2 separate regions of the Homo sapiens genome follow, and region 1 is linked to region 2. Evidence: promoter capture Hi-C in 16 types of primary human blood cells and fetal thymus (Javierre and others, 2016). All regions are on one chromosome and are shown on one strand. Each heading gives the region's core, a stretch centred on a gene start or on the middle of the fragment in contact. The rest is flanking DNA. Distances are from core to core; before and after follow the strand shown.

What was found. Contacts are between HindIII fragments. The CHiCAGO score rates a contact against its expected background, and 5 or more counts as called.
Region 1: a fragment that was not itself captured here is called in contact with the fragment with the promoter of DDX10 in region 2 in 1 of 17 cell types (naive CD4 T cells); the score reaches 6.0 in naive CD4 T cells.

What each region holds. Positions count from the first base shown.
Region 1 is chr11:108,412,096-108,417,740 of GRCh38, forward strand. The region is part of intron 3 of C11orf65 (chromosome 11 open reading frame 65); the gene reads right to left. Among named protein-coding and RNA genes, the nearest start is that of C11orf65, 53 kb to the right of the region's middle. The HindIII fragment of the contact is 4,000 bases long and covers 2,063-5,645 here.
Region 2 is chr11:108,661,089-108,667,482 of GRCh38, forward strand. It overlaps DDX10 (DEAD-box helicase 10), which reads left to right and starts at 3,981. Exons shown (of 18, transcript NM_004398.4): 1 at 3,981-4,251. The coding sequence starts at 4,066. The HindIII fragment of the contact is 12,853 bases long and covers 1-6,394 here.

The sequences.
Region 1 (5,645 bases), core at 2,813-5,312, 250 kb before region 2:
TTGCATGATGTATATTTTTCCATTGTCTTATTGTTTTATATTCTTATTGTTTAAAGTATGCCTCAAAAATAATAAACAGATGGGGTTTTTGTCAGTCTGACAACCTTTGCTTTCATTTGGGTTCTTTAGTCTATTTACATGTAAAACATACACATGAAATCGTATAAAATGCTCAATTAAAACCAGAGAAGGCAGTAAAGTGAAGGAATACAGAGAAAAAAAAAACAATGGCAACAAACAGGAAACAATTACAAATACAATAAATATCGATTGAACTATATCAATAACTTTAAATGTCAATGATCTACATATACCAATTACAAAGGGCAGATCAGAGACTGTCAGAGCGGATAAAAAATCAAGACCCAACTATATGTTATCCACAAGCAACCCACTTTAAATATAAAGACACAGATTAATAACAAAGAAAAGAACAAAGACGAACCTGGGCAATATAGTTAGACTCTGACTCCACGCAAAAAATTTTAAAATTAGCTGGGTGTGGTGGCATGCACCAGTAGTCCCAGCTACTTCAGAGGCTGGGGCGGGAGGATCACTTGAGCCTGGCAGGTCAAGGGCGGCAGTGACCCATTATGACACCACTGCACTCCAATCTGGACAACAGAGTGAGGCTTTATCGAAGAGGAAGAAAGAAGAAAGAAGAAGAAGAAAGATATATGATACTAACACTAATAGAACGAAAGCTGAGCTGCTATATTAATTTCAGACAAGGCCAAATTAAGATCAAGGAAAACTGTCAGGACTAAATGGAGCATTACATGATGATAATGTATGTACTTAACAACAAAGCAGCAAAATATGTGAAGCAAAAACTGATAAAACTGCAAGAAAAAATATAGTAATTTACTAACATAATTGGAGATTTCAATACCCCTCTATCAGTAATTGACAGATTCAGCAAGTCAGAAAACCAGTAAGGCCATAATTGAACTGAACAGCAGCATAAATTAACTGGATCCAATTGACATTTATAAAACACTTCTTCGAACAACAGAATATATATTCTTCTCCAGCACAGACAAAATATTTGGCAAGACAGACCACGTTCTGGGCCATAAAACACACCTTAATACACTTTTTTATTTGTACAAATTTGTGCAGTATATGTGCAATTTTGTTACATGCATAGAATGCAGAGTGGTCAAGTCAGGGCTTTTAGAGTATCCATCACCCAATTAATGTACATTGTATCCATTAACTAATTTCCCATCGTCCACTTCCCTCCAACCAGCTCATCCTTCCAACTCTCCACTGTCTATCACTCCACTCTCTACGTTCATGTGTATACATTTTTAGCATCCACTTCTATGTGAGAACATTTGATATATATATATAAGATCATGTCACCAGTAGAAAAAAGATAATCTGACTTCTTATTTTCCCATTTGAATGCCTTTTATTTCTTTCTCTTGCCTGATTGTGCTGGCTAGGACTTCAGTACTGTCCTGAACTTGAGTGGTAATAATAAGCATCCTTGTCTTTTTCCAATTCTTAGAGGAAGCGCTTTCAACTTTTCCCCATTCCATACAATATTAGCTGTGGATTTGTCATATATGGGCCTATCTTAACAAATTTAAAAGGAATAGAAATCATACAAAGTATACTCTCACACCTCAATAGTATTAAACTAGAAATCAGTAACAGAGAGATAACTGGAAAACCCCAAAACTTGAAAATTAAATAACACACTTCTAAATAACAAGTAGGTCAAATAAAGAGTCTCAAGAGAAGTTAAAAATACTTTGAAATAAATGAAAACGAAAATACAACTTACTAAAATTTGAGGGATTCAGCAAAAACAGAGCTTACAGGAAAATTTATAGTACTGAATGTGTGTATTAGAAAACAAAAAATATCTGAAAGAAATAATCTAATGTTCTGCCTTGAGGGACTAGAAAAGCAAAGCAAATTAAATTCAAAGCAAGCAGACGAAAATAAATAATAAAGATTAGAGCAGAAATCAATGAAATTGATAACAAGAAATCTATAAAGAAAATAAAAGAAACAAAAAGCTGGTTTGAAAAGATCAATAAAATTGATAAGCTTCTGGCTAGGGTAACTAAGAAAAAAAGACAGATATTACACATTACTAATATCAGAAATGGTCCTTGTCATTTCTGTCTAATTGAATACTTTATTGTCATGATGATGGTTACTCTTCATGGACATCTTAATCTTCCACACACATCCCCTTTTTTTGGAATAAAATTTGTAAAGAATGAAAATGGTGAAGGAAAAAAAAAGAAACAAAATAGAGGTCATCATTACTGATTGCATGGACACTAAAAAGGATAATAAACAAATTTTATGAGCACAAATAACTCTATGCCCTCAAATTTTATAACCTAGATGAAAGAGACCAATTCCCTAAAGACATAATCTACCAAAAATCACAGAAGTAGTAGATAATTTTAATAGGCCTATCTCTATTAAAGAAATAGAATCAATAATTAAAACTTTTCAAAACAGAAAAAAAGCACAAGGCCCAGATGGATTCACTGGTAAATTCTACCAGACATTTAAAAAAGAAATTTATTTTACTATTTACAGTCTCTTCCAGAAAATAAAATCAAAGGGAATACTTCCTAACACATTTGATGAGGCCAGCATAACCCTAATACAAAAACCACACAGAGACATTACATGAAAGGAAAATTATAGACCAATATCTCTCATGAGCATAGACTTAAAAATCCTCAAAAATTTAGTAAGTCAAATCCAACAATGTATAAAAATAATTATACACCATGATCAAGTGGGATTTATTTTGCAAGGCCACTATTATATTGTATCAACAGGCTAAAGAAGAAAAGTCATATGATCATATTAGCAGATGTAGAAAAAGCATTTGACAAAATCCAACACCCATTCATGATAACAACTTTGGCAAACTAGGACTAGAGGGGAACTTCCTCTAATTAATAATATCTACAAGAAACATACACCTAATATCATACTTAATGGTGAGAAACTAAATGTTTTCCTACAAAGATGTCCCCTCACCTTTTCTATTCAACATCACACTGGAAGTCCTAGCTAATGCAATAAGACAAGAAAAGGAAATGAAAAGTATACAGATTGAGAAGGGAGAAAAAGAACTGTCTTTGTTCTCAGATGACATGATTGTCTATGTTAAAAAATCCCAATGAATCACAAGGTTAATATACTAATCAACTGCTTTATTATATACCAGCAATAAGCAACCAGAATTTGAAATTTTAAAACACATTGTCATTTATATCAGCACGCAAAAAAGTAAAATACTTAGGTATAAATCTAACAAAATATATAAAAATCGATATGAGGGAAACTACAAGACCGTGATGAAGGAAATCAAAGAAGATTTAAATGAATGGAGAGATATTCCATACACCCGAATAGGAAGACTCAATATTGTCAAGATGTCTGTTCTTCCCATCTTTCTGGATCTATAGATTCAATGCAATCTCAATCAAAATCCCAGGAACTTATTTTGTGTATAAGGACAAACTGATTATAAATTTTAAGTGGAAAGGCAAAAGACCCAGAATAGCCACTATAATATTTCAGGTGAACAACAAAGTTGGAGAATTGACACCACCCAACTTCAAGACTTACCACGAAACTACAATAATCAAGACACTGTGGTACTGGTGAAAGAATACACAAATAAATCAATGCAACAGAAGACAGAGCCCAGAAATAGACCCACACAAACAGTTAACTATTCTCTGACAAAGGGGCAAAGGCAATTTAGTGACAAAAGAATAGTCTTCAACAAATGGTGCTGGAACACCATTTGGACATTGCGGGAATCCACGTTCAAGAAAAAAAAAATCTAGACAAAGATCTTACACCTTTCACAAAACAGTAACTAAAACTGGATCATAACTTAAATGTAAAATGCAAAACTATATAACTCTTAGAAGATAACATAGGAGGAAATCTAGGTGAGCTTGGGTTTGGTGATGACTTTTTAGATATAACACCAAAAGCATAATAGATATGACGGACTTCATTAAAAAGTTGTACTCAATGAAAGACATTAAGATAATGAAAAGACAGGTCATAAACTGGGAAGAAAATACTTGCAAAACACATATCTGATAAAGGGCTGGTATTTAAAATATACAAAGAACTCTTTAACCTTCACTATAAGAAAACAAACAACCTGAATTAAAAATGGGCAAAGGACCTGTAAAGCTATCTTCACTAAAGAAGATATACAGACGATACATAAGCATATGAAAAGATGGTCAACGTTGTATGTCATTAAGGAATTACAAATTAAAACAACAATGAGGGCCCGGGCATGGTGGCTCAAGCCTGCAATCACAACACTTTGGGAGGCTGAGGCAGGTGGATCACTTGAGGTCAGGAGTTTGAGACCAGCCATGGCTAACATGGTGAAACCCCGTCTCTACTAAAAATACAAAAATTAGACGGGCGTGATGGGGTGTGAATTCCAGCTACTCGGGACACTGAGGCAGGAGAATCACTTGAACCTGGGAGGCAGAGGTTGCAATGAGCTGAGATTGTGACACTGCACTCCAGCCTGGGCGACAGAAACTCCGTGTCAAAACAACAACAACAACAAAACAAAAACAATGAGATACCTCTATACACCTTTTAGAATGACCAAATTCAAATACTGACAACACTAGATGCTAGCAAGGATGTGGAGTGGTAATTCTTTGCTGGTCGGAATGCAAAATGGCACAGCCACTTTGGAAAAAGTTTGGCAGTTTCTTATTGAACTAAATGTACTCTTACCATAAGATCCATCAATAGAGAATTTAAAAGAACAACAGCAAGAATATAAGTCAAAGGGGATAATGAGAAATAAGTGCATTGTCTGGGAGAAGATAAAAATGCAAATCTATATATGATTTCATAAGTCAAATATGCATGTTGCAATCTCTTGAATAAGTTTAAAAGAATGATAATATATAGAGAAAAATATAAAAAACTCATTCCCATAGAAGGCCATAACATGTTGAAAAAGAACGTAGAACGTCTGAGACATACAGAGAGTAAATAGTAACAGGGTAGATTTAAATCCCCAAACATCAGTAATTACATTACATGTGAATGAAGTAAATGTTCTGACAAAAGACAAAGAGTATCCTACTGGATAAAAAATGTTAGCTAACAACCTGCTGCCAGGTCAGGTGCGGCGGCTCACACCTGTAATCCCAGCACTTTGGGAGGCCGAGGCAGGAGGATTGCCTGAGTTCAGGAGTTTGAAACCAGCCTGGGCAACATGGCAAAATACCATCTCTACTAAAAATACAAAAAATTAGCCGGGCGTGGTGGCACATGCCTGTAATTCCAACTACTGGGGAGGCTGGAGCACAAGAATGCTTGAACCCGGGAGGTGGAGGTTGCAGTGAGCTGAGATAGATAGTGCCACTTCACTCTAGCCTGGGCAACAGAACGAGACTCTGTCTCAAAAAAACAAAAACAAACAAACAAAAAAAAACCTGCTGCCTATAAAAAGACACAGCAAAAATGTAAAGATTCAGAATGTTGGAAGTAAAATGACAGGAAAGATGTACCATGCAAATAAGAGACAGTTGGTGTGCGCATGTTCTCACTCATAATGGGAGTTGAACAATGAGAATGAACACATGGACACAGGGAGG
Region 2 (6,394 bases), core at 2,731-5,230:
GCTTCTTAATTGTCTTTAGCTAAAAAATAATTTTTTATCAAAGAGGCATATTTTGGGGTTACATATTCTGTTTTTTTTCCACTATAGAAAGCTATGTAGAACAAGTGTAGAGTCTATTGAACTATTATTAGGCAAATATCCTCATACCTATCACCTAGGTCAAGAAATAGAACTGTGCTTTTCATTCCCATAATTCTTTGAGCACTTCTTATTTTCTGGCACTTCAAGATATTCCAGCTTTCTTGTACTTTCTTTGTGTCAGCCCTGGAATTAGCTATTTCTTCAAAGAGCTCTGGATCATTTGATTGGAAAAAATGGTTTTACAAACTGACATCCGGGCAATGGTTGTGCTCATCACTACCATTATTATCTTGCTCAACCAGATAATCTTTTAAAAAAGTTTTAAAGCACTGAAAGAATATAATGATCTTTTCAGAGTTTTTGAGACATGCAATTTGAATAATTATGATGATAAACTGTTGAAAACTTACAAATAGAAACTAAGCGATGGATAATATTAGATGGGGTATCAATGTATGATGAACTACAAGTATTACTTTTTTTTTTTTTTTTTTTGAGACAGAGTCTCTCTCTTGTCACCCAGGCTGGAGTGCAATGGTGCGATCTTGGCTCACTGCAACCTCCGCCTCCCAGGTTCAAGTGATTCTCCTGGCTCAGCCTCCTGAGTAGTTGGGATTACAGGCACACGCCAGCACGCCTGGCTAATTTTTGTATTTTTAGTAGAGACAGGGTTTCACCATGTTGGCCAGGCTGGTCTCGAACTCCTAACCTCAGGTGATCCACTTGCCTCCGCCTCCCAAAGTGCTGGGATTACAGGTATGACCCACCATGCCCAGCCAAATATTACATTTTCTCCTTAAATTTTAGTATGGACGCTCCCTCCCCTGTGGAGTATTGCCTCTATTTGTATCAATAGCCATAGTTACCAGGCGCATTTCCAAATTTTTTTTTTTTTTTTTTTTTTTTTAGTTCTTTAGGATCTTTGTGAATATTGGTTGGCAGTGGAGAATATAGTCTTAAAATGTGTTAAAACATATTTAATGTCCTCAATATCACAATTGGAAGCCTATCTAGGGGTCATTTCTACAGAAAAGAAGGTATTGGAGCAACTAAGCATAGAAACCATCATAAAGCTGTCACTTTAAGTGATCAATATATGAACTATTTTCATCACAAATTATTAAATCCTAATGACTTTGGAATGTGATATTGAGTTCTTGTGACTAAAATTTGAATTTTCCACTATCGTATGTTAACAATTTGGTTTATTTAACAAACAAAATGACTTCTATGAAGAGTTTTGTTTTGTTCTCTGAGTATTCCCTGTTTTTATTTCTTGGATATGAGGCCTTATTTTCCTAAGAATATTGATAGTGATTTTTTTTTGAAGGCCTATTTTGCTCTCTGCATTAGTTTACTAATTTTGGCTTACAACTTTTAAGTTAAAGGATTTCCTAAAATATTTGTTGGTCTTTGGTTATTCGCCCATATTTAAGAATAAGGCTGAGTAGAAATGAGTGAATGGAGGGCTTATTAACTGATAAGTTTCACTAAAGAGCAATGGGGTGGTTAGTGAGTTGTCATTTATTTGGCTGCTGCCAAAATGTCTTTTTTCTTTCTCTCTCTTTTTGTTTTTGTTTTTGTTTTTTTTTTTTTGAGACAGAGTCTGGCTCTGTCACCCAGCCTGGAGTGCAGTGGCAGTATCAGGGCTTACTGCAGCCTTGACTTCTGTAGGCTCAAGTGAACTTCCTGCCTTGGCCCCCTAGTTTCTGGGACTACAGGTGTGTGCAACCAAGCTCGGCTAATTTTTTTGAATTTTGGTACAGGCAAGGTCTCACTATGTTGCCCAGGCTGGTCTCGAACTTCCGGGTTCAAGCAATCCTCCCACCTTGGCCTCAGAAAGTGCTGGGATTATAGCTATGAGCCACCGTGCCTGGCCCCTAGATGTTATTGAGGTCTTTCTCTTGGACATTCAGTTTTCCTAGAGTTGAACCTTCCAGTTTCTTGCCTGGGGCGCATATATGCCTGACTCCTACAGTTTTAGGAAAAAAGTGAGTTATAGCTGAGGGCCTTATCGTTCTGTAGGTATGCATATGTGGTATACATATGTAGTAAAATACACATCACATAAAATTTACCATTTTAGCCATTTGTAAGTATACAATTCAGTTGCATTAATTACATTCTCATTGTTGTGCAACCAATCTGCAGAACTCTTTTCATCTTACCAAACTGGAACTCTGCACTGATTAAACAGTAACCCCCTGGTTGCCTGAGTCCCTGGCAACCACAAGTCTACTTTCTCTATTATTTTGACAACTCTAAGTTTCTCATATAAATAGAACCATATATAGTATTTGTCCTTTTGTGACTGGCTTATTTCACTTAGCTTAATATTCTTAAAGTTTATCCACGTTGTGGCATGTGTCAGAAATTCCTTCTTTATGAAGGCTGAATAATATTCCATTTTAGGTACATATTATGTTTTGTTTACTCATTCATCAGTTGATAGACACCTGGGTTGCTTCCACATTTTAGCTATAGTGCTGTGGTGAACACGGTATGCAAATATCTGAGACCCTGCTTTCGATTATTTTGGCTATGCATACCCAGAAGTGAAATTGCTGGCTCACGTGGAGTTCTATTTTTAATTTTTTGAGGATGTATATACACTTTCATGTAATCACTCCTTATTGAGCTTTACTGTCTACCACATCTAGTGTTCCTGAGTGTGGAAATTCTCTTGTTCACCTCCTGTCCTCACTCCCTTCCAATAAGCCATGTCTTGTTTGGAGGATGGGCATAGAGTTGAGAGTAGTGATCTGGATATGTGGGGTTGGAAAGGAAATTTGAGAGCCCAAAATTCTGCCTGTGAACTTTGAACTCAATTTTCCAATCTCCTTTGCTACAGCTAAGCTCTCCCACCCACATCCGGTGTTTTCCTGGAGGCTGTAGGTAAATGTGTCAAAAAATTCAATTCATTGAAAGCCAGTTCACTTAAATGTCCAACTTGCAATAACTTTTCTATTACCTCCTTTTTTTTTTTTTTTTGACGGAGTTTCACTCTTTCACCCAGGCTGTGGTGAAGTGGGGCGATCTTGGCTCACTATAACCTCCGCCCCCGGGGTTCAAGCGATTCTCCTGCCTCAGCCTCCCAAGTAGCTAGGATTATAGGTGTGCACCACCACGCCTGGCTAATTTTTGTATTTTTAGCAGAGACAGGGCATCACCATATTGGCCAGGCTGGTCTCGACCTCCTGACCTCAGGTGATCCACCCACCTCGACCTCCCAAATTGCTGGAATTACAGGCGTGAGCCACCGTGCCCGGCCTCTATTACCTACCTCCTTACGTTTAGTTATCATTTTGTCTCCATAAAAGCATTTTAAGGCAAATTCAATTTGATTCCGTTCCAGTTTCCTTGCTGTTGCAGCTAGAGTCTGAGGGGCCCAGAGGAAAAGGAAAACCCAGAGGGGCATAAGAAGAATATAGAATATTCATTTTTATTCCTGAGGAAGTACAACCACCATGGATGGAAATCAGAAGTCACTAACTAGCTGTTTACTTCTGGGCAAATCTTTTGGCTCGTTGGCCCGAAAAGTGCAAAACGAGGGTCACAATTTTCATTCACAGATTGTATGTGTTTACACACATACTCACGAACGCTTAGCAAAGTTGAACCTGGAGCAAATGTGTTAATAGCCCTTAAAGGGTCAGTGTATGACGTCACCATAGTAACAACAACAGTGCGCATGCGTTTTTTTTTAAAGAGCCGGCGTGCTCCCGGCTCGGCTCAGCTCGCCCCCTTCCGTGGAGTGCTGCGCCCCCGTTTCCCCAGGCTGCCCCTCCCAGCAGGAGCCAATTCGCCAATCACAGCCCTCCTTTTCCTGACGTCATTGGCGCGTGCCCCGGTTTCAAAAGCTCGGGGGCGGGCTTCTGAGTTCGCGCATGCGCCTCTGTGCGTTTGTCCCATGCTGGTTCCGTGAGTCTGGCCTTAGGTGTCTCGTGTCTGGGGTTGATCCGAGCTGTCGCCGCCGCCGCCGCAATGGGCAAAACGGCCAACTCTCCGGGTTCGGGAGCCCGACCCGACCCGGTGCGGAGCTTCAATCGCTGGAAGAAAAAACACAGCCATAGGCAGAACAAAAAGAAGCAGTTGAGGAAGCAACTGAAGAAACCCGAATGGCAGGTCGAGCGCGAGAGTATCAGCCGCCTCATGCAGAACTATGAAAAGGTGAGGCCGGCGCTGGGGAGGGGGCTCGGGCCGGCCAGCAGCGGGGCAGCGTCTCACTGCGGCGAGGAGTTGCAGAGTGGAGGCGGCGGATCTGTCACCGGGACCCGGCCGGGAATGAGAGGTCACGCCGGGTGCCACAGCTCAAACCTCTGCACCGTTCTGGCCACTCTTCTGCTTGCCACACTGTTCCTAAAAAAATAATAGAAATGCGGCCGTACCTAAGGGTAGGGAGACTAATGCTGTAATAGCTACAGTCATATTCATATTAATAATACTGATGACAATAGTGGTAATAATGACACCTACATTTTTAAGCACTCACCATGTGCTTACAGTAATTGTTTGACTTGATCTGAGGTATGGATATTAATAATCCTATTTAACAGATGAGATAATTGAGGTTCTAAGAGGAATGAAACTTGTCCGAATCTTTCACGCTTAGTAGGTGGTGTGGAATTGGAAGCTAGATCCATGTCTTTCTAATCCCAAAGCCTTTGCTTTTAACCATGAAGCCAGACTGCATCCCTCAACATCATCTATGCTCCTTCCTGTGGCCACCTCATTTTCTCCACAGGCTTCATGTCCCCATCCAAGAATTGGCCTAGAAAAGCTGGACCGCTGGTCTGTTTCTGTCACCTATCATCCCCACATTGTAGCTGGTGTTCCCAGATGAGTATACCTGTAATGATCACTTTGACCTCCTGACTTCTTCCCCCAACCTCCAGACTCCACAGGTCTGTCAATTCCTCTTTTCCCTTTCCCTAAATCCCATGTTTGTTGGTCTTCACCCACATCTTTCAGCTTCTCAGCCCCCTTCTAGTGCAGTACAATCAGGGATTTAACAGATGGAACATTCTTGTAACTAAGGTTGCCATTGTAACAAATTACCACAAACTTGGCGGCTTAAAACAACAGAGATCTTGAGGTCAGGAGTTCGAGACCAGCCTGACCAACATGGTGAAACCCCGCCTCTACTAAAAATACAAAAAAATTAGCTGGGCCTAGTGGTGGGTGCCTGTAATCCCAGCTACTCGGGAGGCTGAGGCAAGAGAATCGCTTGAACCCGGGAGGCAGAGGTTGCAGTGAGCCCAGATCGCACCATTGCACTCCAGACTGGGTGACATGAGTGAGACTCTGTCTTAAACAAACAAACAAAAAAGCCCAGCAACAACAGAGATTTACCTTGTCACAGTTCTGGAGGCCATACGTCTGAAATCAGTTTCACTGGGCCAAAATCAAGGTGTCAGCAGGGACTTGCTCCCTCCAGAGGTTCTAGGGGAGAATCTGTTTCCTGCCTCTTGTAGCTTCTGGTGGCTGCTGGCATTCCTTGGCCTGTGGCTGCATAACTCCAGTCTCTGCCTTCTCCTGTGTCAGTCTATCTCTGTTCCTCTGTTATAAGGGCGCTTACGATTGCGTTTAGGGCCTACACAGATAATCCAGGATAATCACCCCATCCCAAGATCTTTAATTTAATCACATCTGAAAAGTCACTTTTGCCATGTAAGGTAACATTCATCCCTTCCAGAAGTTAATACATGGACATGAGTTGGGATCATTTTCAGCACCACATCCTAGCTCCACCATCTCAGCAGACCGTAGAGCTAGAAACCTAGGAGCAGTCTTAGCTACTTCTCTCTTACCTACTCTTATATCCAGTCGGTCACACTGCTGATCTGTTCTGCTTACATTTTTCAAATGCTTCTTCATCCCTACTGCATTGTCTTCAGTCCCCATCATCTCTTGCCTGGATTACTATAGTAAATATTGCTTTCAACAGGGATCAGCAAACTTTCTCTGTAAATGATAGTGAATGTTTTCAGCTTTGTAGTCCTAAGGGTGGAACTACTCAATTGTTCCCTTGTAATACAAAAGCTGCCATAGAAATACTTAAATGAATGGGTGTTGTTTTTCAGTAAAACTTTAATTAGTGAAACAGGTGGCTGATGGGCTTTGTCCCCTAGGCCTTAAACCTTTTAATTTGTCCTCTGTACTTCTGCTAGAATGATTCTTTCCAAGATGAAGATCTAATCATTTTACTGCCGATTAGAACCCTTCCTTGGCTCACAGTTACTTTTAGAAAAATTGTCAAATACAGCGTGTCAACATGTTCTAGTCTGCTGCAGAGTAAGTTATTTGTGGTCAG